2 separate regions of the Homo sapiens genome follow, and region 1 is linked to region 2. Evidence: promoter capture Hi-C in human tissues and cell types (Jung and others, 2019). All regions are on one chromosome and are shown on one strand. The core of a region is centred on a gene start or on the middle of the fragment in contact, and the rest is flanking DNA. Distances in the headings are between cores, read along the strand shown. Region 1 has its middle 55 kb from the start of NPY1R. Region 2 holds the start of NPY5R (neuropeptide Y receptor Y5).

Region 1 (3,207 bases), core at 585-3,084, 67 kb after region 2:
ATTCTAGAAAATATATCCTTAATCGCAATCCTACACTGCTTTTCAGCAATGGAAAGAATGCATAGAATAATTGAAACTATTGCTTTTAAGGAAGTATTATGTTTAAATATGGCTATTGGAGGATTCATTATCAGCCACTGTCCTTTCATTTTTGACTTTTAAAACAGACTTTTTCATCATGATACCATTTACTTAGTTCTCACTCATAAAAGCATGATACAGTGTTTCATACTCAATAGACAGAGTAAGGGAATTTTACATTTTGATAACAGAAGACCATAGTGTGTAAGAGGATCCACATGAAATGCGATAAGATCAATAATAACACATCGCTCTCCTTCCTAGACTTCTCTTTAAATACCCATTCCTTGATGACTCTGACATCTCCACATAGACCTCTCACAAGCTTTGCAAATCTGCCTTCCATGTCTACAGCCACTAGCCTTTCCCTGGACACAAACCCAAATCTGTTTTTCCACTTAGCTTTGCTAGTTTCCATTAGTGGAATCATCAATTGCCAGAAAAAAATGAGAATTAAATTTCTTTCTCCTTTTCCCCAAACATTACCTCTGAAATATTTTAATTCTTTCTTCCCTTTCTACCTTAGTGCCAAGGCCATACTTGGAATGGTTTGTCATTTCTTTCTATCTTTTTTTTTTTTTTTTAGATGGAGTCTTGCTCTGTCGCCTAGGCTAGAGTGCAGTGGCGCAATCACAGCTCACTGCAAGCTCCGCCTCCCGGGTTCACGCCATTCTCCTGACTCAGCCTCCCGAGTAGCTGGGACTACAGGCGCCCGCCACCACGCCTGGCTAATTTTTTGTATTTTTAGTAGAGATGGGGTTTCAGCGGGTTAGCCAGGATGGTCTCCATCTCCTGACCTCATGATCCACCTGCCTTGGCCTCCCAAAGTGCTGGGATTATAGGCATGAGCCACCGCACCCAGCCTGTCATTTCTTGATAGACTTCTGTAATGGTGTCTTCATTATCATTTAAAATCTACCTTCCAAACAGCTGCGAGGTGGATTTCCTCACCTGCAAATCCTAATATACTACTAATATGAGCAGCTTCTCATATGTTCAGGATTAATTTCAACTCCCTGCTTACCCTTTCAAGCTTACCTCCCAAAATGTCCACACATATCCTTCACATCAGTCACACCTAGGTACATTCAGTTTCTCAAGTGGCCAAATGTTCTCACACCCCTGTCACTTTGTTCACAATCTCATGGATCCCACCCCCTACTTAATTGCCTGGCCGACTTCTATTTTTCACCCAGGACAGATCGATCAATACCTACATTTAGAAGTAGTTTCTCATTGAAACCCCACATATCTCAAGTAAAGTAAGTATTTTTTTATATGCTGCTACTTTATTGTGGCTACTTCAACTTATTCGGTTTATATATGATTAAACCTAGTCATACTGTCTCTAGTCATTTTTTTAGTGTATCTTTTCATTGTGAGGTTTTAGAACATAAAGACTATGTGTTAATCATATCTACATACCAAAACCTTGAATTTTGACTGACACATTGTACGTGCTTAATACATGCTTGTTGAATTGAATTGAAATGTTTACCAGAAATATTCTTGGCAGCCTTAAACAACAAGAACAAAAACACAATGATGGAAAATTGAATACAAGAGAAAATAGCTTTCAGAACATTATGGCAGGTTGCACATTAAATACAATCACCTCTGCATTCTTTTTGTACATTGAGGCTAATTTATAATACAAGCAATGTTCAATGATTTCTGATTATGGCACCTCAAGGTTTTCGATCACCAAGACTCAATTATTTGCAATATATTCTTTATCTTCTATTACACACACATATCTTATGCACATTTATATAGATGCCCCCCGATCATATCAACCTGAAAGTAAAAATAGACTCACAATTCTTATTATAAACCCATTTTTCTCTCTTTTCTCAACTGCTCTGCAGAAACTCTAGACTCCTAACAAATTCCTCCTGAATAGTTCTTGTAGACTGCAGACAGTTTCCCAAGTGTGCTAGATAAACTAGTACTCCTGATGACCTGTGGTGCCTGCTAAGCTTCTCTTCTCCTGCTGTAGCTTGCCCTGTCTGTGCTTTCTGTCTCTACTGATGCCTTCTGGTGGCATAGGCATCTTTGTTCTGAGCGAGATGCTATTAATGCTGAGAGTACTGATGCTCAACTTTCCCCACTTCTACGGGACTGCCATTAAAGCCAACCTAGATTAGCAAATAGGAAGGGAAACACATGCTTAGGAAACTAAAAAAAAATGGCATCAGAAAAATTTCTGTAAATAATTTAACATTAATTATTTTTAAAATCGTGATTTTTTATGGCAAAAATCAGAATTTCTATTTAAATTTACTTACATGTATTTAGCAGTTTGGAATTACTATTTTTTAATTTCCATGTGAGAAAATGCCCCTAATATTTTTAGTCATAAATCCTCTAAAGATTAAGGCAGCCTTTCCTGACACTAATGGCCACTGATGCCCAGGCAGCAAATGCAGGTTGCTAGTGTGAAGGGTGCTAATGTCTGTGGTGTTGGCATCATCTCATGTTTGAAATCCAAACACATGCTCCACACTGTGCAGGTCTTCTTTCTTTCTTTCTTCTCCTATTTTTATTGCAACTGCCTTGTTGTGGACTCAGGTGTGTGTTCATGGAGACCGAATTAAAGGACAATCTGAGAACTCTGTTTAGAAACATGCTTCTTTTCAGAACTTGAACTATGCTTCTTGATACTCTTTTTTTCTTGGAATAAACTGCTTATGGCGAGGAACCTTGGCGCTTTATGTAACCACACTAGGGACAGACCCATACACTACTCCAGGTAGGTTTAGGATAAGGGTCACTGAAATTAGGTTTTATGTGGGAACGCTTGATTCACTAATGAATTTGTAAACATTTTTCAGTAACAATTTTTGAAATGAAAATAACCTGTTTCATTTCATTAAACTCCAGGCTGGGTGTGGTGGCTCACACCTGTAATCCCAGCACTTTGGGAGGCTGAGGTGGCTGCCTGCCTTGAGGTCAGGAGGTTGAGACCAGCCTGGCCAACATGGTGAAACCCCATCTCTACTAAAAATAAAAAAATTAGCGGGGCAATGAGGTGCACGCCTGTAATCCCAGCTACTCAGGAGGCTGAGGCAGGAGAATTGCTTGAACCTGGGAAGCAGAGGTGAGCTGAGATCGTCCCACTGCACT
Region 2 (3,611 bases), core at 1,078-3,577:
GTAGCTACTGATAGATTGATAAGCAAATTTAAAAAATTCTCTCTTAGCATTCATTCATTCAACATTCATTTATTCATTTTATTTTGGTGTGACTGTAGTCAACTTTCTCCTGCTCTCCCTCTAGCCCCACCCCACACCATCTACCACATAAACATACACACATGTAATATCTAATATATAGTCTGCACAGAATGAACATTCTGTGAATCTTTGCTCCAATGAAGGAAGAATTTCTTCTTACGACTAAATAATGAATATTGCAAATGCTGGAGGCAGGGAGGGGGGGTGGGGGAGGGGTGGTGGTGGACGTGTAGTTTTTTTAAAAGTGCCTCCTGGTAGCCAGGGGATAGTTTAAACATTAGGAAAATTTTGTACAATAAGATTTAAGTTGAAAATCTAAGGTACAGGAACGCACTTAAAATGAAAAAACAAACAAAAAAGCAGGATTTTTTCCATTAAACTTACCCTTTCCCTTCCTTTTTCCTGAAAAACACAATGAGCAGACCTACAATGGAAATCCAAATTTCAACAAGTGTTATTACGAGTGCTGTACATTTTTATGCAACATATTTTATCTATTATAAAAGTAATGATATATGTGAATCTTCTGAAATTGCTATATAAATTATGAAATATAGCCAGAGAAAAAATATTTTAACATGGAATATTATTTGACAAGAAATCTGATATTGACAGCATGAGACTTTTGTCATACCTAATTACTATATTTACTCATTCTCTTTTGTATTAGTTGTATCTCCCACCATCAGAATTTCCAGGCTGAAACACAGAACTTTAATCTCTGAGTAAAAAGTGTGAAAAATAAAAGTTCTTTATTAAACTATGGCAACTTATAAAAAATAATATCTTTTTAAAGGTTTACTGGAATTTTCTTATAAACTCTTCTATATCTGACACCTAGACAAATGAAACCTTCTGAATAGATTTTAAGTATTTTAAGAAAGTAGATAGTTCTCAAGAATAATAGGAGGAACTGCAGGGAATTCAAAGGATATTAAAAGTCTGACTTGTACATTTAAATAAGGTTTCTTTGTTTGAATAATTTTTTGCTTTATGAAAATACACATCATTCTTTTCACAAAGGATGACAATCACACAAAAGAATAAAATATATGTAATTCTTTTTCCTCCTGCAATGATACAATATCAACTATTGTCTGTTTTGCTGTGATCGTGGAACAGCAGCATGATTCCATGTTCTCAAATATTCCCATGGTTTGTTCTTAAAGCCAGAATCTGGCACAATTTGAATTGGAAAGATAAATACAGCTCTGCTCAGCTGACAAACACACAGGCATGCACCACCCTCCCTTCCAAATTCTAACAGCAGAGTTTCTCTTCCCTTGAGAAATCTGAAATCTAAAATTGCATTCGGACTGCAAAATTCTGCTGAAAGAGCCTTAGGCTATTTTCCATGGTCTAAGGTAAAATCGTTTTGGCTTTGGTCCAACACAACGCCTCAGTTCCTTTAAAAGATTAACTAAAGGTCTGTGAACTTGGAAAAAAGAATTCCCGTTTCTGGAATTCGAGTTCTATGGATGTTTGTTATTGCTCGCATTTGTTATATGAAGACACCTCGCAAACAGGAGCGCAAACCTTAGAGCGCAGCTGCCTCCCGGGCTCGGGTCAGCGCTGGACCGCGCGGCAGCTGGACGGCCTGAGTGGCGCCCCGCGGGCTGCGCCCCCGGCCTCGCCAGAGACCCGCTAGGGTTGAGCCCTGACCCGGGCACCCCGCGGGCTGCTGTTCCCAGCTCCGGATGCCAGCCGGGCTGCAGCCAGAGCGCGTCCAGCCGGGGGCAGCGCTTTGTCCATCCCCCGCCCCATCCCCAGGAGGCTCCTTCGCGGATCCCCGACACTCTCCTCCCGGGTTCGGCCCGCGCCTGCTCCACCCGGGTGAGTTGGGAACCGGAGGGACCTGCTCGGCACGAAAGAATTCAGCCCAGTACCCTCTCCGCTGTCTCTTCACTCCTGACAAGTGCCTGTTCCGCCACCCTAATCCCCATTTTTCCAGCCGCGCTCCCTTCACCTTCCCCACCCCGCTCTCTTGGGACCCCCGACAACGCCCTGGCACCAGAGACGGGTGCGGGCTCCCAGGGACCTGCGCAGACTCGCAGCCCGCGCGGGGACCCGCCACGGCCCCTCGGTGCAGGCCTACCCGGCGCGAAAGGGGTTGGCAGGGAGGGGCGGGAGCCCGTACCTCGGGGCGCCCCGGCCGCTGCAGGCCCTGGGCTCCCGGGAGCGCGGCCCAGCGCGATCGCTCCTGCACCCCGGCGGTGGCGGCAGCAGCGGGAGCAGGACCTGGAGGCGGCGGTGGGGAAGAGGGGGCGGGGGTTTAACGGCGTCTCGAGAACACGTGACTGTTCCGGGGACCCCCGAGACCCTGCTCCAAGGCGCCTGCTCCGCGCCAGCCTCTTCCAAAGCCGGGGGCCGGGGGCGTCCCAGACCTACGCCGCTGTTTGGGCGCTCTAGGGAGAAGCCACAGGGCCCCGGGATGTCGTCCCTTCACCCTGGCCTCGGGTCCCAGGCCGACCAAGTTAACTTGATGGGCAAATCGAGTTTTGCCGGTCCAGCCCTCAACCCTGTGTAGTGAACTCTGAGAAGTCTTGGACTGGTGTGAGGATGGCTGTGCCCCTAAGTTCTTAGTATTCCTGAGAACAAGCTTCGACTCTCAGGTTTTATCTTTGTTTGGGGTGGGGGACGGTGGGGGGTGGTGTGGTGATAGAAAGAAAGAAAGAAAAAAGACAAAACACTGCTCTTCCTTTGCACCTCTTTGAAGTAAGGAAGAGTGGAGGTGGGGAGGCTGACCCAATGTTCAGGAGAGGCAACAGCGTCTGCGGTAATGAGCCCAGCAGAATAGAAGGGAAGTTTCCCCACTCCAAGGAGTGGCAGCTGTGGGTGTGGGCAAGTGGCAGGAGCAGGGGAGTGAAGCTGAAATGAAATCAACGCTGCTCAAGACTATATTCAATAGCAAAGAGAAGACGAAGGGCTAAAAACGAATTGTCACAGGTTAAAAAAAAAAAAAGACGGGAAAAAAGCCCACACAAAAGAAGAAGAGAAAACCTGTCCTTCTGTTCCTTCCCAACATGATTTCCATCCCTAATGTTTCCAAATCTGTATTGCGCAGGTTTGCTTTATTTTTAGCTAATCATTAGGTGGCAGGTACTTTAGGCGCGCGCGCGTGTGTGTGTGTGTGTGTGTGTGTGTGTGTGTGTGTGTCTGTGAGAGAGAGAGAGAGAGAGAAGGAGAGAAGGGAGAAAAGAGACATTGGGTAGATGTCCATGTGTCTTTGGACATAGCTTTACCATGAGAAAGGGTGTAGTTATTGTACCCTTTAATACTGAGAACTATTATGTAACAGACAGCATCTCCTGCTGAGTAGAGTCGTGTGGGATAAACCGAAGAGAACTGTACCCCTTGGGAGCAATGTGACTTGTAATTCTAACATCTGGGGCAGACATCACTGTTACAGAAGAGGTCAAAGAAAATTTTTTGTGTCCCCTTTCTGCTGGATTTCAGCATTCAATACTCAGGGGATCTGTATAGATTGCTATTTCATCAGTCAAAGAGTCATCCAAGAGCTTTTAAAGAAC

What was found. The method cuts DNA at HindIII sites, captures the fragments that hold promoters and counts their contacts. A contact is called where the count stands out against the background at its distance.
Region 1: a fragment that was not itself captured here is called in contact with the fragment with the promoter of NPY5R in region 2 in 2 of the 25 tissues and cell types used here (H1 embryonic stem cells and spleen).

What each region holds. Positions count from the first base shown.
Region 1 is chr4:163,275,636-163,278,842 of GRCh38, reverse strand. No RefSeq gene overlaps it. Among named protein-coding and RNA genes, the nearest start is that of NPY1R, 55 kb to the left of the region's middle. The HindIII fragment of the contact is 3,613 bases long and covers 28-3,207 here.
Region 2 is chr4:163,342,608-163,346,218 of GRCh38, reverse strand. NPY5R (neuropeptide Y receptor Y5) reads right to left here and starts at 2,327. Exons shown (of 4, transcript NM_006174.4): 1 at 2,219-2,327; 2 at 466-505. It also overlaps a transcript of NPY1R not described here. The HindIII fragment of the contact is 9,678 bases long and covers 1-3,182 here.